7 separate regions of the Homo sapiens genome follow, and regions 2, 3, 4, 5, 6 and 7 are each linked to region 1. The links are contacts of gene promoters, found by promoter capture Hi-C in blood cells and fetal thymus (Javierre and others, 2016). All regions are on one chromosome and are shown on one strand. Each heading gives the region's core, a stretch centred on a gene start or on the middle of the fragment in contact. The rest is flanking DNA. Distances are from core to core; before and after follow the strand shown. Region 1 holds the start of NRBF2 (nuclear receptor binding factor 2). Region 2 holds the start of RTKN2 (rhotekin 2). Region 3 has its middle 46 kb from the start of ZNF365. Region 4 has its middle 64 kb from the start of ZNF365. Region 5 has its middle 85 kb from the start of ZNF365. Region 6 has its middle 120 kb from the start of ZNF365. Region 7 has its middle 200 kb from the start of REEP3.

Evidence for each region. Contacts are between HindIII fragments. The CHiCAGO score rates a contact against its expected background, and 5 or more counts as called.
Region 2: the fragment with the promoter of RTKN2 here is called in contact with the fragment with the promoter of NRBF2 in region 1 in 4 of 17 cell types (non-activated CD4 T cells, total B cells, M2 macrophages and 1 more); the score reaches 6.4 in non-activated CD4 T cells.
Region 3: a fragment that was not itself captured here is called in contact with the fragment with the promoter of NRBF2 in region 1 in 1 of 17 cell types (total B cells); the score reaches 6.0 in total B cells.
Region 4: a fragment that was not itself captured here is called in contact with the fragment with the promoter of NRBF2 in region 1 in 5 of 17 cell types (naive B cells, total B cells, total CD8 T cells and 2 more); the score reaches 7.8 in naive B cells.
Region 5: a contact is called between a fragment that was not itself captured here and the fragment with the promoter of NRBF2 in region 1, in 1 of 17 cell types (naive B cells). The highest score is 5.1, in naive B cells.
Region 6: a contact is called between a fragment that was not itself captured here and the fragment with the promoter of NRBF2 in region 1, in 1 of 17 cell types (total B cells). The highest score is 5.5, in total B cells.
Region 7: a contact is called between a fragment that was not itself captured here and the fragment with the promoter of NRBF2 in region 1, in 5 of 17 cell types (total CD8 T cells, erythroblasts, total B cells and 2 more). The highest score is 7.7, in total CD8 T cells.

What each region holds. Positions count from the first base shown.
Region 1 is chr10:63,131,479-63,135,018 of GRCh38, forward strand. It overlaps NRBF2 (nuclear receptor binding factor 2), which reads left to right and starts at 1,850. Exons shown (of 4, transcript NM_030759.5): 1 at 1,850-2,022. The coding sequence starts at 1,993. RefSeq lists silencers at 1,667-1,916, 2,127-2,396. The HindIII fragment of the contact is 9,214 bases long and covers 1-3,540 here.
Region 2 is chr10:62,266,942-62,270,481 of GRCh38, forward strand. RTKN2 (rhotekin 2) reads right to left here and starts at 1,903. Exons shown (of 12, transcript NM_145307.4): 1 at 1,610-1,903. The coding sequence starts at 1,669. All of the region lies in intron 1 of LINC02621 (long intergenic non-protein coding RNA 2621), which reads left to right. RefSeq lists a silencer at 1,655-1,984. The HindIII fragment of the contact is 2,285 bases long and covers 1-1,988 here.
Region 3 is chr10:62,418,803-62,422,342 of GRCh38, forward strand. It overlaps a transcript of ZNF365 not described here. Among named protein-coding and RNA genes, the nearest start is that of ZNF365, 46 kb to the left of the region's middle. The HindIII fragment of the contact is 181 bases long and covers 1,608-1,788 here.
Region 4 is chr10:62,436,408-62,439,947 of GRCh38, forward strand. It overlaps a transcript of ZNF365 not described here. Among named protein-coding and RNA genes, the nearest start is that of ZNF365, 64 kb to the left of the region's middle. The HindIII fragment of the contact is 1,152 bases long and covers 1,227-2,378 here.
Region 5 is chr10:62,457,712-62,461,251 of GRCh38, forward strand. It overlaps a transcript of ZNF365 not described here. Among named protein-coding and RNA genes, the nearest start is that of ZNF365, 85 kb to the left of the region's middle. The HindIII fragment of the contact is 3,229 bases long and covers 151-3,379 here.
Region 6 is chr10:62,494,295-62,497,834 of GRCh38, forward strand. No RefSeq gene overlaps it. Among named protein-coding and RNA genes, the nearest start is that of ZNF365, 120 kb to the left of the region's middle. The HindIII fragment of the contact is 1,533 bases long and covers 1,170-2,702 here.
Region 7 is chr10:63,721,166-63,724,705 of GRCh38, forward strand. No RefSeq gene overlaps it. Among named protein-coding and RNA genes, the nearest start is that of REEP3, 200 kb to the left of the region's middle. The HindIII fragment of the contact is 324 bases long and covers 1,349-1,672 here.

The DNA of each region.
Region 1 (3,540 bases), core at 600-3,099:
GTCACCCAGGCTGGAATGCAGTGGTGTGATTGGTCTCAGCTCACTGCAACCTCTGCCTTCCAGGTTCAAGCAATTCTCCTGCCTCAGTCTCCCCAGTAGCTGGGATTACAGGCACGCGCCACCACACTTGGCTACGTTTTAGTGCTTTTAGTAGAGATGAAGTTTCACCACGTTGGCCAGACCAGTCTCAAACTCCTGGCCTCAAGTGATCTGCTCTCCTTGACCTCCCAAAGAGCTGGGATTACAGGGGTGAGCCAGTGTGCTAGGCCACTTGGTTGTTTAAATACGAGATTTGATTCTTCCATTTTCTGTATGCTTTACTGCCATTCCATCACTAACTCCTCTCAACCTGATGCCCAAAAATATATCTTGAATATATCTACTTCTCTTCCAAGGTTTCCGGCACATGGTAGAAACATGATAACTATGTAATGAGTGGATGCATGACCCAATCTTCCCTACTTCCATTCCAGTCTGAGCGCCCATAATTAGTCAATCAACTAGCTTGTCTTGGTTCTTTTTCCTTAGGCCTTCCACAATCTATTCTTCACATTACAGGGAAATTAATCTTTTCAAAACTGTAAATTAAAGCAGATTATTCTCTAGCTTAATATCCTTTACTTATTTCCCAATGCACTTTGAGTAAAATTCAAATGTTTCATTGTGCACTGCAAGGACACCTATGTTTTGGAAGTTTCCTATCTCTCTGGTATCTTCTTTTGCATCTCTCTGAAATGCTGCAGCTCCCGCCACCCGACCTCCCCGCCTTTAGAGTTGAGGCATAAGACATTTCCTTTGTCGAGAAGGGTCTTTGTTTAACTGGCATTTTAAGGTTTAATCTTAAAGATTACGCCCTTAGCCAGGTGCGGTAGCTCATGCCTATAATCCCATCAGTTTGTGAGGTCCAGGAGGGCGGATCATTGAGCTCACTTGAGCTCAGCAGTTCAAGATCAGCATAGGCAACATGGCGAAACCCCATCTCTACAAAAAATACAAAAATTAACCTGGCCTGAGCACTTGTAGTTCCTAGCTACTTAAGAGACTGAGGTGTGAGGATCGCCTGGGGCAGGGGGCGGGCAGAGGGAGGTTGCAGTGAGTGGAGATTGCGTCAGCAAGACACTTTCTCAAAAAAAATCACGCCCCCCATGAAAGGCTTTCCTTTACCACCCAACTCCACCTTGGTTACTCTATCACAGCTCCCTATGTGTTCCCTTTCCAGCATAAATCACAACTATTTGTCAGTGAATTCCATGACAGAACGAACCTAGCTTTTGTTTGGCACATAATTGTTAAATGAATGCAGTATTATATTTGGCTAGACCAAAATTGTTTCCCTATCAGTTTGTGAGCAACTTGAGGGCAGAGCCCTAAATCATTCGAGTGTGCTGACCTCTAGGGGGGTTAGTCCAGTGCATGGTCTAGAATTGCTCAAATCGGCCTTTTGAAAAAATGAATCATGTACAATGATAAAGGTGTGGACAGGACCACAAGTAACGGTGTAACGATTAGCAGATTTAAGGAAAAGTCAGTCTAAAAGGAAACGTGAGAAGCTAATTGCAGAAGACAGCCATTTCAAGTCTTCAACAGCAAGGCTGTACCTCCTCACGTGACTTCAGTGTAGACTTTAAGAACCTAAACTAACGCTTCTCGCGAGAGGAAAGATTGACCGCTCGCAAGCGTACATCAGCTGGTGCCCCGCCTTCCCTGGGCCCCACCCACTGCCTGTCCTCATTCCCACCTTGAACCAGCCTTTTGCGCGTGTGACGTCATGGCGCCGTGCGTGGCCTCGGCGGTGGCGCAGGGGGCGGGCCCGCGGCGCGGCGCCGGAGGAGGAAGTGGTGAGGTTGTTGCTCCTTCAGCGCCTATCGCTGGCTCTTGGGGCGCAGAGAGGGGCCGCAGTCTCCGCGGCTGCGTCGAGCTCCCTTGCAGTCCCCTCCATGTTCCCCGGCGCCACTACTCCCCTTCCTAAGGCCGCCGCTTACCCCGGGGTCTATGGAAGTAATGGAAGGACCCCTCAACCTGGTGAGTGTCCCACAGAATATAGCGTTCGTCTTGGGTGCCTTTGCCTCAGGAGCCCGGCCCCGTCCCCGGCGCGTCGGCTAACCCTTTAGGCTGGGAGGTTGGTTTGGCAGGAGTGGTCGCAGAGGCTGTGAGGGGCTGCTAGGCAGGCCCTGGCCCAACTGCGGCTCCAGGCTAGCCACTTCAGACTTTGCCCTCCTGGGGGATCCCCGGGAAGTCCTGGCGCCCCCTGTCGCGGGGCCCCGGGCGAGGGGATGCCACCACCTGGGGCTGCCACCTCCTCTCTGGCTGGGGGAAGTCCTCTTAGCGCCACGTAGCCACCTCCCTACAGCCTGGAGAGGCACTGAAGCCGGCCAAGGCAGAAATGGTGTGATACTGGTTTTAAGTTCTAGCAGCAGGGTCTGAGTCTGAGTCGCCCCGCTTTGGAGAGGTGGAGGAGTGAATAGCCTCCTCACCCTCCACTTCCCCCTCCTCACCCTTCACTTCCCCCTCCTCACCCTCCACTTCCCCCTCCTCACCCTCCACTTCCCCCTCATTTCTCACATACATTCACATGCATAAACTGAGTCTACCGTCTTCCAAATATATTAGAGACAGCTGGGAAAAAGACAGCCGTTCCTGTATTTAGCTCAGATTCATCAATTTAGGCATCATGAAAGTGTAATAGGTGTTTGCTGTTCTCAGGAAAATGGCTGATAGCCTGTTTACTTGTGTTTTAAGGCGTTTCAGGTGTTGCAATTAAAAAACAACACAACAGAACCCCACTAACAACGGGAAGCATGAGTTCTTTTCAGACTGGCCATTGCATCTTTTAGTTTTCCAGAGAGGTTACCCATTTTGGATGTAAAAGTCAGATTACTTAAGGTTGCACACAGGAAGAACTTTTGAGTCACAGGTTTGCAATTCATTTGCGATGGTGGAATTGAAAGAAAGCTCTATAGAGGATTCTTTTCTCACATTAGAACTCTGAGTCCTAGAAGAGCAGTAGAGTCAGGTGGTTTAAGACTCTAGGTTTTGAAGCTATGCTGCTTGGATTTGAATTCTAACCTCGTCACTTGATATCTGTGTTACCTTGGGCAAACTACTTGGCTTCACTCGGCTTCAGGTTTTTTGGGAGGATTAAAGGAGTAAATAGGTGTAAAGCACTTAGAACTGTACTAAGTACATAGTACAGTGTAAGAGTTAGCGATTATAACCAGACCATAAGCCCTTAATTTAAAATCTATTTGTAGAATAAAGGTTTGGACTTGAGCTTTAAAAGCCTAAGATTCTCGGACCAAATCACTGGTGCCAGGTTAACTGTTGTGAGGCGCCCCTCCCTTTTAAGTTGGGTCTTGCCCCAGGTGGTAGGTATTTACACTTAAGACGAATTGGACTACATTTGCGAGTTTTTTTTAACCAGGGAACTGGCCAGGCGCCGGGGCTCACGCCTGTAATCCCAGCACTTTGGGAGGCCGAGGCGGGCGAATCACTTGAGCTTAGAAGTTCGAGACCAGCCTGGGCAACATGGCGAAACCCGGT
Region 2 (3,540 bases), core at 653-3,152, 860 kb before region 1:
TCGCAGAGGACTCCAGGGTTTCAGCAGAGGTGTTTGACCAGTGTGTGACCACCTCAAAATCTTTGGCCTTATCTCGATTACGTGGCAGCTTCATTCATGTATCAAAGGAAATACCAAATAAAAATTCAGTGTTAGTCAAGTATAAAATTATCTGACTCTCAATATTCCTGTTAGGTTGCAACCTACTACTATTTTGTGTTTTTTCTTCAAATCCAAACTGAGGAAGTAATTCCACATTTCAATCATTTTGATTTTGTCCTGCCTAAGAAATTAAGTATTGTATCTTCCCACATGTAAATAACCCAGGCTTTATGTATATTTAAACATTTATTTTCATTCCATGCAACTAAACTTCATGATTTTATCCTCTTGTCGCTTCTGTACCATTCCTATTCTTGCAGCCTGCAGCTCAATAAATACACCTGGACAGCTACACCTACACCTATATGATAGGTGCAAGAACATCAATAGAATGGCAATTCACTATAAATCAAGATTTTGTTAGCAATCAGGACAGCCAAAGTACATAACAGGACAGGACTGAAAAAAAGTACATCAAAATCTTTGAAATTTTTGAAAATGCTGGCATAAAACAGCATAAGTATTACTGATAAAGACACTGGACTTCTTTTGCATAATGAATCTTAATGTCTTGCTTTATTTTTCACAGTATTATTGAAAACTAATAATTTTGTGTCTGCTAAGGAAATCCCAGATTTTTAAACAAAGATATCAGGTGCCTCCATATGAATGAAATTGCAAATATTCTACCAATTTTGACCTACAAAACTGGCAATTTCATATGGCTTAACCTATTTCTGAAGTAGGTAAAAGAAGGTAGAGATTAAAATAGAAGTGAAGGTCCAGCTTAAAGACATCAGAGTTTTCTTTTAAGACCCTAAAGTTATGGTTAAGAGTGAAAAGTGGTAACATTTTAATAACTGATGCTGCCAAGAAATAATGTTGGTTTAGTAAAAAGTAAAATAAAAAGGTTTCTAACGCATTTTACATGGCTCAAAAGCAAACATCAAACTTCTATCCAATGTCACGTGTACTCCCTCTTTCCTTTCAAATGATTTGAGAAAGAACCCAGTATCAAACCTTCAACTTTTTCTAAAGTGCAGAGGTTGCTGTTTGCCTCTACTCCGCTCCGAACCCCCTCCCCCCAACCAGTTCTGTGTTGTGTGTAGACATCGCTCCATTACTGTGCTTCCCATTAAATCCGTAATAAGCCAGCTGTCCACTGGCCTCGCTGGGTTTCTTGGGAATCGAGGGGCTCCCATTTCCCCGGCATCACCTACACCTGCAAAAAGACAGGCGTCCAAAGCCTGGGGAGGGCAGCGGACAGGTGCGCCCGCAAACGCGCGCCTGGACCCCGGCACCGCCTTCCCAATCCGGACCTCAGCTGCCTGAGAAACTCGGGGGTTCCGATGTCCAGGCCCTTTAGAGCCCCAAGAGCGCAGTCTCCTAATCCCTCCCTTTGTTTCTGGCCACCGCTGAAATAGAGGAGCGGGGGAGAGGCTTTCCCGACTCCTCCACAAAGCAAATGCGCGAGGAACAGAACCCCGGCTCCCTCACCTTCCGCGGCAGGGTCCCTCCCGCAACTCACCTGCTGGGTGGGAAGCCCCGCCAGGCGGAGCGCAGGACCCCTCAGGCTCGGCCCCTCCATCTCCAACGCGAACTGTCCGGGCCGTCGCCACTCCTTCAAAGGGAAGATTTGAAAAGCCCGCCCCTGGCAGGAGCCGCAGAGGACGCCAACCGCCCGGCCGTACCAAGTCCCAGTCGCAGGGGCCGGGGGCGCAGGAGGAGCCGGGCCGAAGCGCACGCGCAGTGGGCGCGCCTTGCGCTCTGCAGCTCCCGCCGCCGGAAGTTGCCGAGACCCCAGGCTCTAGCGCGGCGGGGCGGGGGAGAGGGCGGCGGTGCCGGACTTAAGTCCCGGACAGGGATGTGGGCGGGCCTGGGACGGGAGTGGGAGGGGCCGCGGGGAAAGCTTCGGCGGCGGAGCGCACCTGTCCCAGCTCAGGTTTCTGGCTGGTGGTTTTCGTGGCACGCCCTTTGCACTGGGAGCTTTCTGCCCGCATCCCACCGAAGGCCTTCCAAAGTGATCGTAGCTGGACAGACTCGAGGCTGCAGTCCCTGTACTCCCAGACAACTCAGGAACCCACAGCGTCACTAAGAGCCCACGGTCTCGTTCCTAAAGAACCAATAACATTACTCTCAAACACAGCGCTCTCTGTTTCCTCTCACCTTTCCCAGCGTTGTCACCAGGGTCACCCAGATATCATGGTTTTATTCATCAGGTTCGTGAGATACTATGTCAGGCATTTCACAAGGTCTTGTCTTTGCCCCCAGTGTTTATAATCCCAGATGTTCCCCGCCAACTACTCTGTCCACTTACTTTGTTTTCTTGCGAAGGATTTCTTTCAGCTCTCTCGCCCTCTCTTTCCCTCTCCAACATCTAAGGTGATAGCAAAATGGGGTACTATTTCTCAAGAGCCTCATTTCTTGCTGCCCTAAAGATTAGCACAAAGACCCATTTTAATTCATGGATTTTGTTAATTATAAAGGGAAACATGGGATTTTTAAAAATCAAAATGAAAGCAGCAAAGATATCACACCCTTGAAAAGTCCTTAAAATTCATTGTCCCTAGTTTATCTTTATTTCCCCCTTGAAAAGGCAAGAGGAAGCCTCTTCTTGAAGAGTCTACCAAATCAACCCTCCAGCCCTCATCGCCTAGAAACCCTTGGGCATTTTTCCTCCATAAATAGGTGCCCATGTTTTTTCATTTGCCTGGGACAGACCCTGTCTGGGTCTGTTGTCCCAATGTTGCACCAATCTTGCACTTATCCCGTAGTGGATATTATGTGGTCATTTTAACTGCAAGACCCTTTTAAAAGCAGTTGGTTTGAGAATGTACTTTAAAAATATAATGGATACCCTTCCTCAAATAGGTAAAATGCCTCTTTAAGACCTTTTGGACTAGGTGATACTAGAAGCTTCCCAGTTGGGAATGATGGTCCCCTTGCATTATGAATGACCCATATCCTTACAACAATAAAATATGTGTTCAAAATTATCAACACGGAGCTCACCTCGTTTTCTACAAACACAGGTCTGAATTTCAGAATCATTATGTGCCCTTTCCTCCAATGCACATCTCTGTCTTATGCTACCACTTTGTGGTATAATTATCTCCTACTCAGTATGAGGCTGCATGAGCCTAGCTGTAGTACCTGACTCAAAAGAAAAACACACCGCGAGCCCATCATCAGACACATAGTACTTACAACACATACAGCTCTCAGTTGCAGATCAAAATACATGTAGAAGCCAGCACTTCATTAAAACAGAGGTGAGTCAACCAGTTTAGAATTGGACACTGATAGAGGAGTATTTGATGAGTTAAAACCAGATATTTAACTGGAGATACATTTATTTATGATACTAGAAGAAAGAGATTAGGCAAGATCATATTTAGTAATTATCTGTAGAATACAGTTGTTACAAGAGACCTTTCTCTTGGGAGAAGAAGTTATGAT
Region 3 (3,540 bases), core at 448-2,947, 710 kb before region 1:
TTTTAGGCAGATAAAGCCTAGAAGAGTAGAGAGCTCTTCCTGCATCTGCTGAGTCTCAATTGCCTTTAGCTCAAAATAATCCTTATGCCAATGTGGTGTGATGACTTATTCTGAACTCTTTCAGTGCCAGCTCAGACAGGCAATAGAAACAAAGAACCTTAAGCACATAGCCAACAATCTTACTAATATTATACACGTCTGAAGAACATTATAAATATACCCTGGAAATTTATTGCCAATATCAACATTGACTTCAAGTTTGCTTTCCTCAAACAATGTGGTCAATATATCTAATGAAAGAAAATCTAAAAGTAAATGTGTGCATTCCGCTTTGATACAGTCTACTCCTGAAGATAGTGTAACATATGTTACATGGCCAATCTCCAGACCATGTTACTCTTAAAGATGGTACTATGTACTGGCTTTGATTTGGAGGCTATACAGTTGGATTAATCTTACTATGTTTGCAAACTTAGACAAGTTACTTAACTTCTCTGAGCTTCCATTTGCATATGTAAAAACTGCACATAATGATATTTATCAATCTAAAAGGAAGACGGAGGCTGAGGCAAAACATATAATTTAAAGGGTTTATTTGAGCCAAAGGGAGGACAGCTATCTAGAAGACTTAGATCCAAGTAACCTTGAATATAAGCTCCATTTGGCTTTTGTTACAAGCAGGTTTTTAAAGGAAAAAAAAAAAAAAAGGACGGGGTGGGCTTATACAAAGTCGTTTGTCAGGAATTCTCATTGGTTAACAGAGGTAACACTGATTAATGATTGGGTGCACATTGTTTAGCTATTGAGCGTGGATTTTAGTGTCTGATGTGACATTGTTCAGTTAATTTATAGCTATTTGCAGCAACAGCAAACAGTTTTGAAAGATGAATACATGGCTCAAAGCGGGGAGTAGGGTTTTTCTTGTGTTATTTATTGTTGTTTTTGCATGAACAAAAGGTCAGAATGTTAAGGTAGTCAAGTTCATCAATAGTTTTTTCCTTTATGCTTAGTGCTTTTTTGTTTTATTCCCTACCCAAGGTCATGGAAATATCCTCATATATTAATTAATGTTTTATCATTGAGTATGATCATTATTGTAAGTTTTTGGTATGTACACTTTTTAGGTTATTATAATTCCTATCAATTCCTGGTTTGCTAAGATATATCACAAAAAAATATATAAATTTAGAGAGATGTTTTCTCCTTTATTGAATGAGATTTTGTTTTATATTTCTCCTTTAAAATCTTAATGTATTAGGTTATGTTAATTTATTTTATAACATTAAATAAACCTGAGTTCTTGGAATAAATCATACTTAGTCATTACATATTACTTTTATATACATTATTGCATTTAGGTTGAAATTAATTGGCCTACAATTTTCCTTTTTTGTATTGACATTGTCTTATTTGGATATCAAAGTTAGACTAGAATTTACTATTTCTGAAGCAGTTTGTGCAAATTTGAAATTAACTCGTAATAAATATTTGTTAGAACATGCTTGTAAAAACATTTGGGACTTTGTTTTCTTTGAACCAGTGATTCAATTTTTTTGTTATTGTTCAGTTTGATGGAGCTTCCACCATCTTTGTAACACTGAGACTTAAGCTTAAATTTAAGTTTGTATTCTTGTAGGTAACTATGTCACAGAAAAAGACAAGAGAATTGCATGTAGGATTTTCTCTGTCTTAACTCAGAAATGATTCACATATTTTTTCACATTGTAATTGGCCCATATAACTGCAAAGAAGCTAAGAAATAAAGGAAAGTAAATAGAATACTTAGCAAGCTTTACTGTCTCTGGCAGCCTCTAAGTTCTTGGCCTGGACTACAGAAATAATACTTTGATTGATTGCAAGTTGGCAGTGAACTTGAAAATAAAGGGATGACCTGCCTTGATTTTCTGTCGTCTGGACATTCCACTGGTTTTGTATGCACCTAATGTCTTCTAGAATGGTTTCTGTTTTTCTTGTTTTCAGGCTTTTTTTTTTTATTGAGTCAGGCTCTGTCACTCTGTCACCTGGGCTGGAGTGCAGTGGCGCCATGCCAGCTCACTGCAACCTCCACCTCCCTGGCTCAAGTGATCCTCCCACCTCAGCCTCCTGAGTAGCTGAGACCAGAGGCACCTGTCACCACACCCGGCTAGTTTTTTATATTTTTGTAGAGATGGTTTTTTTTTTTTTTTAACTGAACACTGACTGATAAACCATTTTGTACCAGAAGAAGTCTGGAAAACAGACTTCAAAAGATAGAAATGTGGCCTACTTGGGTTTAGAGACATTGGCAACCGATAGTGGTAGCTCATTGCTTATACTGGAAAAATATGTATTTGTCTATTTTGATTTGATTGTTAATGTCTAAGTCATCAACAATCTTATTGTCATCACCAATTTTCTGAACTGAGCTAGTTCACAAATTGAACAGGTCTTGTGAATGTAGGAGAGTCTAGTCAACTTGATGAAAGATCGTACAACACTGGCACAATTATGTACTGCAAATCTGTTACCTGGCCTTTACCAAAAGAATCTGGGGCCATTTACAAGGGTGAATCCACAGTTGATAAAGTAAAATACCCAATCTTTTTAGGGATTACTTCTCATCAGCCTTGAGCTGATGCAAATTCCTCAGGACCATGAATCCTCTATACTCAGTTAAGCGGGTGGGCTTTAGAATTTGGGTGATAAAATGAAATGTTAACCCAAGTCCGTATCACGTAAAGCCAGGAACTCTGCAAAACCACAGTGTGCTAATCCCTGAAAGCATGGTTGAAATAGATTTAATTATGTACTGACAGCCTCCCGACATTGGCATACTCACTGTTGAAGTAAAGGCTTTAATGATAGAGATATGCAAGAAGTCCTTGGGATTTCTTTCTCCAAATAGTAAACAATAATTGATACTACATCCCTGAGGTAATTGAAAAGATCAGTGCCACCATCAAAATCTTGAAAGCTGCAGAGCTATTGATTTCTTTCAGGTCAGCATTAACTTATCTGTTTGCTCTATGCAGAATACAGATGAATCTGGAATAATGACAGCAGATTATTACAACTATAGTTGTTACAGATGTGAACTCCTTGCTGGATCTATAGCTGATACTCAGCTATTGATTTGGATAATGTTTTACCACTGTATTCTGAATAGCAAAAAAATATCAGAAGCAGCTTCCTCTTATCTGCAAGGTACTGCCATATATCTTCATTGTCTTAGTTCAGAGTTATGTTAGTATTCTGGTTTTCAGCAATAATCTAGTCCAGAGAAACCAAGTATTACCATTCTACAGGGCAGCATGTTGGTCCATTATATGGATGAGTCATGCTGAGTGGGCTGTGTGAGTAGGAAGGAACCAGTATTTTAGATGCCTTGATAACTGCATGCATGCCAGAGGTGGGAGAAACACCCCATGAAAATTCAAGGCATGTCATCTTGTTCATCTTGATGAAACTTCTAGGGTTGGGTAGACTGGGAAATGTGATATCTCATAAGAAAGAGAATATAAGTCGCTATGCCTTACACCCTCATCATTAAGGAGGCACAAT
Region 4 (3,540 bases), core at 553-3,052, 700 kb before region 1:
AAAAAGCCACTGGCAAAAAAATAAATAACAATTGAGATTTAGTTACACAATAAAATTATAGAACATATCCAGATTTGTAATAACACATAAAAATATAATGCTAAAAAGGATAATTTTGATGCTTTACAAGACCTTAGTTGTTAATTAGGTTCATTATTTCATTAAGGCAGGAAGATTTTCACCAAGAAATTTTTATTCACTAAGAAATGAATATTTCCTGAAGCCTTTTGAATCTTGCCAGCACCCTTCATGACCAACATCATTGCACTTACTAAGTTCCTGCTTCTTGTTGAGCAGAGCCAATTAACTGAAAAAGCTAATGATGGAAGGACAACCAATTGGGATCTAGTAAGATCTAGCCCTGTAGCTGGTAACATTGTGCCAGGAATTTAATATGCCTGAGCAGGCTCATCTGTAAGATGGTTATGATAGTACTGTTTATATCATAAGTTGGTTAGGAGGGTTAAATGCCTAGCTCAATGCACCGTAAACAACGAGTGCTCCAAAAAATGTGGCTAGCACACACACACACCAAGCATTTCAAACAAGACCTATAAGCAGATGGACTTCTGACTATAAACTTTCTTATAAATTCCACATAAACTCTCTCTAGCTAAGAGGGAGAGTCAAATACCACATTTAAATGTATGTATGAGAAATGTATTCTCTGTTTCCAGTGATTTCAGAATCAGAGATCATTTTGGATGGTTTATTTTAAAGTCTTCCACAATCTATACCCATAGATACAAATATATGTGTCTGTGGGTGTTTTGGAAAATAGGATTGGGTGGAGGCAGGGAAATGTATGTGGTTGAATTCAGTTAAGCAACTGGCTGTTTTGCGACTAATGATTTGTAAGTAGCAGTTTGGCTGAATTTAACTTTTTTTGTCTTTAAAAAATGTAGTTTTCTGAAATTTATCTAAAAAAGTTGATCTATATCAAGCTTTAGGGTAACTTCGTCATGGTTTCCTTGCTTTCTGGAAATTCTACGCACGTCATAGAGTAAATGTCAAATTTTAAATAGGAAATCAATATTCTTCTCTAAGAGGCTTTGAGAATAAATAGCTATTTTAATTCTTTCTCAGGAAGGGATTTCATAAGGAATTGTAATGACGGAAGCAGACAAAGTTTAAAGCGAGTTTTTAGCAAGTTATTTACATCTCATGTTATGTTTTCCAGGCAGTTAACAAACAGCCAGATCATCAGAGTAAGGTGTAACTCATAAAGCTTTTTCCTTCTAAATTCACACATATACGTACGTGTGTGTGTGAATAGTATATGCAATTTAAAGGTTGTGAGATTGGTAGCAAATGCACTTTTCTGTAAATCTCCTGGCTTCTTTTCCTTCCTTTGACCAGAAACAAGCAGCCCTGATAATTATATTCTCTACCACTAGGGGGTGACAGCTGATAATCTATCCACATACTTTAAAGTAAGACAAACCACAGGCTTGATTATGTAGGTATTAATCTTTCTTTTATTGGTCGCCTGGTGAGATTTGGTTTGATGAGTTTTATTTGCTGAACACGCTCTACATCCAACATCATTCTTCTGTCGTGATGCATAGCATGGGCCTGTTGGAATAACAGCTGGTGCTGGACAGCTTTGTAGATTTCAAGTAACTGTGTATGGGAAATTAGTTAACAGATAGGAGCATTTATTCACTCATGCATTCATTTCATAAATATTGAGAGTCCACAGATCCTGTGACAAGGACTGAAGATACAATGGAGAACAGGAATATTATATCTGTTTTCATACAGTATTTTCTTGTTTTTGTTTTTGTTTTTTTTTTTTTGAGACAGAGTCTCACTCCATCACCCAGGCTGGAGTGCAATGGCTCTATCTCAGCTCACTGCAACCTCCGCCTCCCAGGCTCAAGCGATTCTCGTGCCTCAGCCTCCCTGGTAGCTGGGATTACAGGCGCAGCAACCATGCCAGGCTAATTTTTGTATTTTTAGTAGAGATGAGGTTTCGCCACATTGCCCAGGCTGGTCTCAAACTCCTGGCCTCAAGTGATACACCCGCGTTGGCCTCCCAAAATGCTGGGATTACAGGAATGAGCTACCATGCCCAGCCACATAGAGTTTTTATTGAAAGGGGAAAGACTACAAAAACCAGGTAAACAAACACATACATAAAGTAATTTTGAGTGTTAACAAGATAGATAAAGGAAAAAAACATGAAGGGCAGATACAGAATAACTGGCATTAAGGAAGAGATATAACATTAGATCAAGTCACTCCCTTATCTAAGGCCTTTGCTATTCTCTTATGTAAGCAGAAGATTCAGAGGCACACTGTGCCTTACTCCGGGTGCTTTCCACTTGAATAGATTCTGGCAAAATCCTCATAACTCAGCATTTCGGTGCCTTTGAAGCTTGCAATAGCTGATGAATGGTATCTAGCACCAGTATCCTTCCTCAGTATGCTTCTCACAGTACTTAGAAAGCTTTATTAAGGTAGGCATCAAGCAGAAAGAATTTGCCTGGTCTCTATTCCTTCTGCATTACAGCCTCACTAACTTGCAAGCATTTTGTCTAATTAGCTAGAGTGCTTCTTGAGAAATACACACACAAACACATTTCAAATAGAAAATAGTGCTCATTTAAGGTCATTTAGCATGGAAAATAAAATTATTCTAATGGTATGAATATCGGTAAGACTATCACCTTGCTGTTGTTGATACTACACTTATGGTTTCTGGTCAGTATAGATATTTTAATTCCATTTCCCACTTTCTTAGTTTTTCTCCCTTACTTGAAATCTCCTTCATCTTTACCAATTTAAATTCTTCTCATCTTTCAACTAATAATGGGTCTATTCTTTCTCTTCTCGGTCTCTGTCTTCCTCTCTCTCTTTACATTTTCCTCATGCCATGTGTATTCCTTCATTGTGTTTATTCCAGAAGCACTCACGTGATTGAGCAATTGATTAAATAATCTTTACTTAGAATTTTATGATTATTTCAACTCTAGCAAAAAAAAAAAAAAATGTTGACTCACTACCTAACAATGCCTCCCTTTCCCAGATTCTCTTGCAGCTAGGGATGGGATGTGTAGCTCGGTTTAGCCAATGAAGCATAGGGGAAATACACTGATATCTTCTGAGAAAGACATATTCTTTATAACAAAGATGGGAAAGCATATGTGCAAGCCCTCTAATAGCTGTGGCTCTTCCTTTGCCCTGACTTTGCATGAGGTTATAAAGGATTTAATGTCTGGATCTGCAAAATTATCTTGTGAACAAAATGGGAAACCCAAGGGACTCTTGAAGATGTCAACCCAGTGACCTTGACAATGTGGAGCTGGTAAATCAGCTCTGAAATGACCATCCTCCAGCTTCTTATATCTTCTATTACTTAATTTAATGTCTTTATTGTTTATGCCACTAATAATTTGGTGTACTGTTACTGAGAGCCAAACATATCCTAACTGACACAATCTAAATATTAAAATCCCTCAAAAATATCATCTCACTTTTAATTTTGATACTTCTTAGAACCTGGCCCAGTGCTTGAGACAGAGTGGTGGCTAAATA
Region 5 (3,540 bases), core at 515-3,014, 670 kb before region 1:
TGTTTATATTTATGAATGAAGGGCTAGGTAATTAACAACGGTGGCTAGGTGTCAGGTGCAGCTCCCTGCCACTGAGTAGGTGTGTCTCCTCAGTAAGCATATCTGAGGTTGGTGGCTGGCTGTGTACATGGGTGGGATGTGTCAACCACAAGCTTCCCTTTAGGATGCAAGTACAGAGAATCATGCAAATGACTTTCTTTTCACCTCAAAACACCAAAAACAGAGGGCTTCACTGTGGAATGCCAAATACCATACAACAAGCCTTAGCTCTCCCAGGGAGACATCTTATTTTCTTAATAGATCAGATCTTGGGGAGGGGACGAAGGTTTCTGAATCCCCTCTTGCTGCTCCATCTGTATGCATGGGAAAAGAGGAGAGAGATGACAAAAGTCAAACGGTGCAACCATTCTCTGGTCAACCTTCTGTTAATCACTTGGTTTTTGCTCCTCTTTCCATTCCTGAGTTCTGAATCTGTTCATGTCCAACGTGAAGATTCCCCAAGGCTTCTTTGGAAAGAACATTCCACCCTTTCTGCAGCCTCCTCCTGAGTATATCTGGGGTGCTGCTTTCTCTGCTCTGTTTCATCTATCCATACTATTCACTGTCTTTCCTTCTTCCAGAAAAGTATCAAAATGTCTGCTGATGGTTTCCTTTTTTGTCTTCAGCATGGTTATGAATTTATTTCCTTAACTGACTCTTCAGCAGAATTTTGAAAAGGAGTGTAGATAAATGCAAGCATCCAGTCCACCATCTTGAACACACACACACACACACACACACACACACATATATATATAATATTGTGTGGGTATATAAATGTGTGTGTATGTGGGTGCATGCACATGTGTTTTTTTTAAAACAACATTAGATTTTGCCAGTTACATTTTTGCTACTGGCTTAATTGAATACCCTTCTAGAAGAGTTTTGAAAGCTGTTTCTTAAAACCACTTGGGGAAAACAGGGATCTTCCTCTCACTTTATTATTATTTTTTAATAATATTAGCTGAGTTTTTGGTCTTTTTTCCTACCTGAATGAACAAACTTCAGAGATGATACGATCTGTTACACAGAAATCTGTTTAAGTTGTACTTAAAAACAAGAAAAGATATGTTGATTCTAACCTCTGGAGGTCAGCATTGGCTTTATCTATATTTTGGTTTTTTGTTGTTATTTGTTTTTAATACTGAACAATCCTAAACCCTACACCCTTATCAAACTAGAGCATTCACTTCAAATCCTGAGAGTAGCTGGTGAAGAATGGGCCTGGAATAAGAGTGGGTAAATGACCCATGAAAGAAATGACTATCTTATGTTGGATCTAAAACCTAACTAGTAAATATTTATTTGTTACTGTTAGTACTATGTATACATTTACTGTATGCCAATAGTATTCAAAATATATGGTTCTACTGAGGATGGCTAAAACACACATAGATGGAGGGAGAGCTTCTGCCTAGTGGGCTTCAAATTGAAAAGATGCACAGCATTGAGATAGACACTTTCCAGGAGAAAACCATGACTCACATGGGGATGACTTCAATGGCATCTGGTTTCCATCTTCTTTGTTTCTTCTCTTGGACTCCATTCAGAGGCACTTCCTTCCAGCTGGATCTTTTAATGGCATAATGTGAAAGCAAGATCCACAGAAGTGGGTTTACAGGAGGGACTTGAAGGAGAAAATGCAGATCATCAGGGGGAGACGATGGAAAATTACACCCAGATGGGAGGGAACAGAGAATGTACACACATCCAGACTAAAATATACCAATTAAAATATTTAGGGAAATGAAGAGTGGTGTATGATTTTTAATATAGGGTAACAAAACTCTGAATGCAATAAAAAGGCAAAGTGATATAGTCCTGATTGCAATTAGCACATTAATGCAATTTCTGTTTCTAGCCTGGGAAAATATGTCAGCTCTCTTTACTTAAATGAATGGAACATGGCACTGCTTGTAGTCTTGCTGTGACTTATTCAGTCTACACACTAGCTCCATTCATGATGGCAGTACCCTTCTTTTCCTTTCAGAGCTGGAAAGGTGCTGGCGAAGCTCGCCTGGTGTGCCAAAATGACCTGGAATTGGAGGTAAAGCCACCACCTGGGTGGGTGGGTTGGGCCTGGTTACAATAACCAGCAGCCCATCTGGGTCCATATGAGAGAGACTGGAAGGGGCGCAGCAGGCCATTGGTTTCTGTATGAAAACACACATTTTCACATTCTCCTTCTCCCAAGTCATCATTAGCAAGGAGGAAAGTCTGTTTCTTCCTTTAAAATGAGGGTCCATTATATTCTGTAGCTTTTCCCCCTATATATGATGTTCCTTTTAACTGAATAGTACCAGATTTGAGTGACTTGCCACTGGTCTTATTCTCTTCTCTACCTCCAAACAGCTCTTGAGAGGGGCCATATCACTGGGAGGTAAGTGGTGATGGCATGGAGGCTGTAACGATGGTTACAGTTCTTCTGTACATTGTGGCAGTCAGACCTGATCCGAACTGACAATAAGTCAAAAAATAATTATTGAGTACTTGTCCAAGTCCCTGCAGAGATATATATTAATGAGTAATTCTTCAGTCCCTCTTTTATGTGCCAGGGATGCATTCAAGACCCGCAGTGGATGCCTGAAGCTGTGGATAGTACTGAACTCTTACATGTTTTTTCTTATAAATACATACCTGTGATAAAGTTTAGTTTATAAATTAGGCACAGGAAGAGATGAACAACAATGGCTAATAATAAAATAGAACAATTACAACAATATAGTGTAATAAAAGTTATGTCAGCGTGGTCTCTCTCTCTCTCTTAAAATACCTTATTGTACTGTATTCATCTATTTTTGGGCCATGGTTGACCATGGGTAACTGAAACCTAGAAAAGCAAAACCTCAGATAAGTGGGGACTACTGTATAGAAAATGGTAATATGAGACAGATTGCTCTAAGCCCTAAGAGAGATACAAATCAGGCTAATGGGAACAATAGAGGTTAATTCTGATGTGGTGTTGGGAGACAGGAGTACATATCAGAAGACAAGAGTTGAAACGACAATGTGGAAATGTATGGGGAGGATTCTTCACTTCATTGGTTTGGCTAAATTCTGGGGCAGCATTGGCTTTACATATAGGCCAGGGGTCCACAAACTCAGATGCCCATAGGAGCCAGACAAGCCCCATATATATGTGAATCTGTCCAGGTGTGAAGCAATCGGGAGTGTTGGAACCTGTGAGAGAAGGAGGGTCACGCCCCCACAGAAAGATCTTCAATTTCATGTTAAAAATTCAAACAATTCATGCTGTTGTCTGCAGATCTTCTCCGTCCTACAAAGACTTCCCTGTGCCTCTACATTCAGACTCAACTCCTCCACCCCAGAGAGAGACCCAAGCTTCCTCTCAAACGCACAATCATATTTCCATAACTAACAGAATCTTCTAGGGCTGATCCTCCCAGAAATATGAGCGAGCAGGCCTTAAAGACAAGTACACATCTCCACTGTGGGAGATGGGATTCTTTAAAGGGCAGTTTAATCAGCTTTCGCAGGGCG
Region 6 (3,540 bases), core at 686-3,185, 640 kb before region 1:
TGTGTACATATATATTATTTGAAATGTTGACAGAAGCCTCACATCAGTCCTTCTTGTCAATGAATGATAAATCAAATTCAATACTTGTAATTCTCCATTTGTATCTTAATTCGGAGCATCTGCCAATTCTTATCCCATTCTTTGCTTTTCAAATAGACTTGCAAACGTGGTTGTTACCAAATCTGGAATTGCACACACAATTCTCCCTAAACCCCTTCTGCCAGATTACTGTTATGTAAACCACCTTCTTTATAGTCCTCCACAGTTTGCAATGGTATTTTACTTGATTTTTTTTTTCAGTGAGCTCCCCACCTTTAGTGCTACAAGTCATATGCTACATTTACATTTAAGCAGTGGTCCACTTATAGAGTATGAAGAACTTCCACAAATCACATTCATTACCCACAAAGCACTCTGTAATACAGATACCACTTCTCTTTCTTTTTTATTTTAAGTTCTGGGATACATGTGCAGAACATGCAGGTTTGTTACATAGGTATACATATGCCATGGTGATTTGCTGCATGTATCAACCCGTCATCTAGGTTTTAAGCTCCACATGCATTAGCTGTTTGTCCCAATGCTCTCCCTCCCCTTGCCCCCAACCCCTGACAGGCCCCGGTGTGTGATGTTCCCCTCCCTGTGTCCATGTGTTTTCATTGTTCAACTCCCACTTATGAGTGAGAACATGCGGTGTTTGGTTTTCTGTTCCTGGATACCACCTCTCTTTCACAGATGAAGAAACAGACTCAAAGGGATTTGCTGATTTGTCCAAAGATGTAGTTTGTCAATTCAAAGTAAGAATTAGGACTTAGCCCTATAAACTGTCCCTGTTTTAGCAGCACCATGTAAGAAGTCGCAACAGTGCAGGAAACATTGGAGTTTCATGATGCTGAATGAAAGAAACGACACGTGACATCTGTCATGGAGCATTTAGTCGTGACTCATTGGCTGCTCTATCCTGCTCCACCTATTTTCTAAAATGTGTTGGAATGTGTAGCCCCTGAGACTCCACAAAAAAAGAGGCTCCCTTGTCCAAATATATTTGGAAAATGTGGCATATTACACTCGCCCTCCTCTCCTACAATGTGCACATTAGCATCGTAAAGGCCCTGAGAAGTCCTCCACTAAAGAAATCTGTTTTACCTTGTTTGACCCTATATTTCCCAAGCTTATTTGGGCACAGACTTCTTTATATAACATCTATTAAATCTATTAAAATCCTGCAGAATTAGTGTGCCATGCAGGGAATACGCTTTTGGAGAAGTGTATAAAAATGATTTGAGGGAAGTTGAGAAAGTCAGAGAAGGTAATCAAAGGGGATTTAAACTAGTCAAGAAAAAGTGTATGAGAAAAACAGGCAGCACAGTTGAAGGATACCCCTCAGAAGTCTGTGAGCTGGATGCTGCTGCTGTGTGCCTCTGACAGCTCTTCATCCAGGCACTGACCCAGCTCTGGGCCTCAGCTTCCCCATCTCTAAACCGAAGGGGTTTGCCTGGGATTTCTCTAAAGCTATTTCCCTCCCAAATTGTCAGTTACATTTTCCCCAGGAGATCCTGAAACTAATTCCGTGAACATTTTTATTTGCAACCTTTTACTTTGATATAACTTGAAATTTAGAGAAACATTAGAAAAAGGACACATGAGGAATTTTCTTTCCTCCGATTCATCCGCTGTGTATATTTTGCCATATTTGCTTTCTAGTTCTCCCTCCATCTCCCTCTTTCTTTCTCCCTCCCACCGCCACTTTCTCCTATGCTCTCTCATATTCTTTTTCTCTGAACCACTTGAGACTAAGTTGGAGATATCATTCCCCTTTTACTCCAATACTTCAGGGTGAATTTTCTAAGAATTAGGACATTCTCTTATCTATCCACAGTATCATCATCAAAATCAGCTACTTAACTTTGATACAATACCATCATGTAATTCATAGTCAATAATGAAGTTTTATCTATTCTCTCAATATCTTTATAGCTACCATTCCTCCCCTAAACTTCATTAACTTTGTATAGAGGGCAAGGTTAAGTCAATGTTAAAATCATTTGGGAGGCCGAGGAGGGTGGATCACGAGGTCAGGCGTTCAAGACCAGCCTGGCCAACATTGTGAAACCCCGTATTTCCTGAAAATACAAAAAATTAGCTGGGTGTGGTGGTGGGCACCTGTAATCCCAGCTACTCGAGAGGCTGAGGCAGGAGAATGGCTTGAACCTGGGAGGCGGAGGTTGCAGTGAGCCGAGATTGCGCCATTGCACTCCAGACTGGGTGACAGTGTGAGACTCCATCTCAAAAAAAAAAAAAAATCATTTATCCACCTAAAATGAAATAAATGGAGCATCCCATTTCCCCTGTCCTCTTGTTTCAACACTGGATAAATGGGTGGAAGAGACAGATAGGAGAGGAGTGAAAGTTGTCTGAAAAGTATTAGGCAATAAATTTTGGACTTGGTATGTCTATTCAGCCATACAAGAACAAATGCCTCCGTGCATGTTAATTGTTTTACTGAAAGTCTTTGAGGTTTACAATGAGAAAAAAACTGATTTATTGTGAAAATCAGCACTTTCTGAAAAAAGAAATTTGGTCACTCCTCCTTCTTTTATTTATTCTCACTGTGCATATATATTTCCTTAACTAGATTATAAGTGCCTTTGAGTGATAGCTGGCTGATTCAGAGCACAGTGAAAGATCCGACTGGCTAGAGAAGCTTTATCAAAGAAAAGAGCAAGGGATGTGTTTGGAAAGGTAGGTTTGGCACAAACCTTGAATACTTAAATACATCGCTTAGGATTTAATTCTTTTCTTCTTTCCTAGAAAGAATTATTGCATCATAATCTTTCAGCAGTGGAGGGCAGATGAAAGAGAACAGACTTTGAAGTCCTAGGAATCAAATCTCAGCTTCACTGCTTATTAGCTGAGCATGTTCTTTAACCTCTCTGGATCTCACTGAAAAAATATGTATCTTAAGAAAGCGGACTGAGAGGTGGGCTTCAATGAGCTAACATGTATCAAGTGCTCATCCTTCCTCTTCCCACTTGCGTATATCTCATATCCTCAAATATTCTCATTTGTTAAACGCTGAAAGTCTAAAATCAACTTCTCACAAGAATTTAACATTTACCTGGGATCTACACATTTGGGAGAAGGAATCACAGAAATAGGAATATGGTGATGCTGCAAAACACCTTCATAAAGGGGGTTTGGACATTTCAGCCTGGATTGTATTGATTGCTTCCCTCTTACGTGTGTTTGGTTTGTCATCTTCACTCTTTTCTCCAGATTTCTCCATTCTGATTGGAAACCTCAAATACAACAATCTGGCTTTCACAATGAAGGTCCAACTGCAGGTGCTCAAAAAATGAAGCCCAGGGTCTCTTTCCTTCCTTGAGGAGGAAGGCAGTGTCAGCTGCTTGGAAGAAGTTGTTTGGAAAATGTGTACGTTTGTGTGGTTTGGAAACCTCCCTTTTCTTTCTCCAACTTTTGGAGAATTTTTGACTCTCCTTGGAGACCCATGTGGGAGGAAGGTTTTGGCTAAGTAAGGGT
Region 7 (3,540 bases), core at 261-2,760, 590 kb after region 1:
AGAGGTACAAATGGGAAACAACTTTTTCTCCCTTGGTTGCTTTCAACCATACTATGCTAAATCTCCCTTCTGTGCTCTGTAACTTCAATCTCTGGTAGATTTCATAGCTTTTGGCTCACATTCAGCTGTAACAAGAGTCCTTGTTTGTTTGTTTCTTATTTTTAATACATGGTTTCTTATTTTTAATACATGGTTTCACTCTGTTGCCTCACTGCAGCCTTAACCTCCTGGGCTCAAGTGATCCTCAATCTCAGTCTCCGGAGCAACTGGGACTACAGGAATATGCACCATACCTGGCTAATTGTGTGTGTGTGTGTGTGTGTGTGTGTGTGTGTGTGTGTGTGTGTGTGTATTTGGTACACATGAGGTCCCACTATGTTGCCCAGGCTGGTCTTGAATTCCTGGGCTCCTGCCTGGGCCTCCCAAAGTGCTGAGATTGCAGGCATGAGCCACTGTGCCTAGCCCCTGTTTTCAGGTATTAAAAATGTTAGTCTGGGCTGGGCATGGTGGGTCACGCCTGTAACTCCACTACTTTGGGAGGCTGAGTGGGAGGATCACTTGAGGCCAGGAGTTTGAGACCAGCCTGAGCAACCTAGCAAGACCCTGTCTGTATTAAAAAAAAAAATTAGCTGGGTGTGATGGTGCATGCCTATAGTCCCAGCTACTTAGGAGGCTGAGGTGGGAGGATCACTTGAGCTCAGGAGATTGAGGTTACAATGAGCTATGAGTGCACCACTGTCCTCCAGCCTGGGTGACAGAGTGAGACCCTGTATTAAAAAAACAAAACAAAACAACGCCCTCCCCAGCCAAAAAAAAACTTAGTCCAATCTCATATATAGCTTGAATCTTCTCTCCTTAACTCTTCTTACTTCTGACTCTGAGGAAGGAGAGCATGACTGTTCTTTCAGTGTTTTTCTGACTATTTCTCATCTCTTTCCTGCTTTCTAATTCCTCTAGTATAGAATCCAGCATGCAGATCAGAGAAAGAGGAGCAAAGTGTCACTGTACTTAGCTGGTATTGTATGTGATTCTCTCATGGATAATACTGGCTGGGACTCATTCCCTCTGTTAATCTGAGAATTCACATAGAGCTTCTCCAGGGCACCCTGTGGGGATGCAGGGGGTTCCTCCTATTCTGGTCATTCTCCAGTTGCTTCTGAAAATCTTCTCTCAGCTTTTGCCCCACATGTTCTGGGCTTCACTCTACACAGCTTCTTCCTGCTGGGGACCCCTGGCTTCAGGCAGTAGTTCTTTTGGTCAGGGTCTGTTCCAGATGATGCATGTCTTGCTACTCTCTTCAGGTTCCCTTGGTCAATGGGAAAACACTGTCCATCCTTTTCCTCCCTAAAGCTTAACCATCTAATCAGCCCTCTCTCCCACCCTGTAATTGCATGCTGCTCCAGCCAGTCTCTTGCCTTCAGCGTTCTTGAGATGGATGGAAACCAGGCAAAGATGCCAGCAAATGCCTGTGGATGCTCTTTGGCTCTCCTAAGAACACTTGTTGTTCTCTATGGTCTGGAAGCAGCACCAGGGCCTGTGATGTCAGGGCTCTGTAAACATCCAGCCAGGAAGTGAGATACAAATCTTTCTCGTAGGCATTTCTGGTCCCTGTGACTGATTTGCTTGGACTCCTTCACTTGGCTTAGCAGTAGGGAGGGAGGGAAAAAGCCAAAGCTTTTCTAGTTCTAAAAATGCCTTTCAAAGCACCTCATAGGCCGGGCAGAGAGACGCACGCCTGGAATCCCAGCACTTTGGGAGGCCAAGGTGGGTGGATCACCGGAGATCAGGAGTTTGAGACCAGCCTGGCCAACATGGTGAAACCCTGTGTCTACTAAAAATAAAAAATTAGCCAGGTGTGGAGGTAGGCACCTGTAATCCCAGCTACTCGGGAGGCTGAGGCAGGAGAATCACTTGAACCCAGGAGGCGGAGGTTGCAGTGAGCCAAGATCGTGCCACTGCACTCTAGCCTGGGCAACAGAGCGAGACTGTGTCTCAAAAACAACAAAAAACAAAAAACAAAGCACCCCATAATGAATGTATAGCCTTCTCTTAAATTGGCTGAAGGTAATTAATGAAGTTTTATTTATTTATTTTTATTTATTTATTATTGCCTGTCTTTTGGCATTTTCTCCACATCCTCACCAACACTTGTTATTTTCTGTGTTTCGTTTTGAAGTTTGGTATTTTAAGGATGAGCTTGGGCATTTTAAAATAAAATTCTGCAGAAATGTACCTAGTGGGTCTCTTTGGCTTCAGGGTCTTAGCTGAATTTCAAAGATAATAAGAGAAGGCCATTCTCTCTGTTCTTAATCATGTTAGGATACAAGAAGATAGCCGTCTGCAAACCAGGATGCAGGCTGTCATCAGACACCAGATCTGCCAGCACCTTAGTTTTAGACTTCTCAGCCTTCAGAATAACTGTCTATAAGGGAACACTTGAATTCATCGGAGAAGAGATGATAAGTGCCAGAAGTAATTGAGGAGAGGGTTCGAGGCAGCTTGCTCAGCTGAGAGCTGACTGAGAGCTGAGAGGTTTCTGGCCTTGGGGAAACAGTGAGAGAGAAATCCCCAGAGCTCCAAAATGGGTTTTTACGATCTTGGCTATGGGAGGAACCCCTGACCCACTGGGGCCTCATGCCTGACATACGGAGCTGCCTAAAGATTGCACAGGAATCTTGCTCCAGAAAGGGAACCCACACAGAATCCCACGGGCATCTGAGCCTGGAGCAGTCTCAGCTGGGAGCCACTTTGAGAGCCCAGATACCAGGGATCTACAGACACAGCTGCAGCTGCTCCAAGGAGGAAGAGGCAAGACTGGGCGCTCCCATGCACCCTCGGGAAGGTGCTTGCCACTCTGCTATAAGCTGCTGTGGAGACTGAGACACGAGTGAACTGCCCTCCCCCATGCTGCCAGCCTGGGCAGGGATTGACAGGGAATCCAGGCCATTCTACGCCTATCTAGGACAATACCCACTGCCCTGTAATGAGCTGCTGTGAGACTGAGACGTGATCACACTGCACTCCCCACAGCTTCTTGCCCATACTGCTTGCCTGGGTGGTGCACGCCCTCTCTGGCTCCTGGTCCAAGGCGACATTTTGAGAGTTTAACATGGGGCTGCACCTCACCCTCGGCCTGAGCTTGGGCAACCATAGCTGCAGCCACTGCCTGCCAAAGAGGCCCCACCCTCTCCTATCACAAGCCCACAGCTAGTACCATTTTGAGAGTTTAGAGACATTGTTTGGCAACCTGGCAGCAGTGGCCACAGCAGGCATCGTAGTCTCAGGTCAGAGATTGGAGCACTTGCTCTGGAATGGGAGATGGGACTCCATAGCCAGCACTGAGCAGCAAGTATCAAGAGTGCCCCAGCAGTAGGTGCTGGAGTTAGGCTCTCTCCTGTCGCAGGACTGCAGTGGGAGGAGAGTTGCTGAAGCCAAGGTTTCTCCCAGGTGGTGAGACTTGCAGCCAGGGACAGCTTTGTGACCTGGAACTGGTCTGTGCATGTCATTGCTGGGTGCCCCGGTTTGCTCCCTTGGTCACTT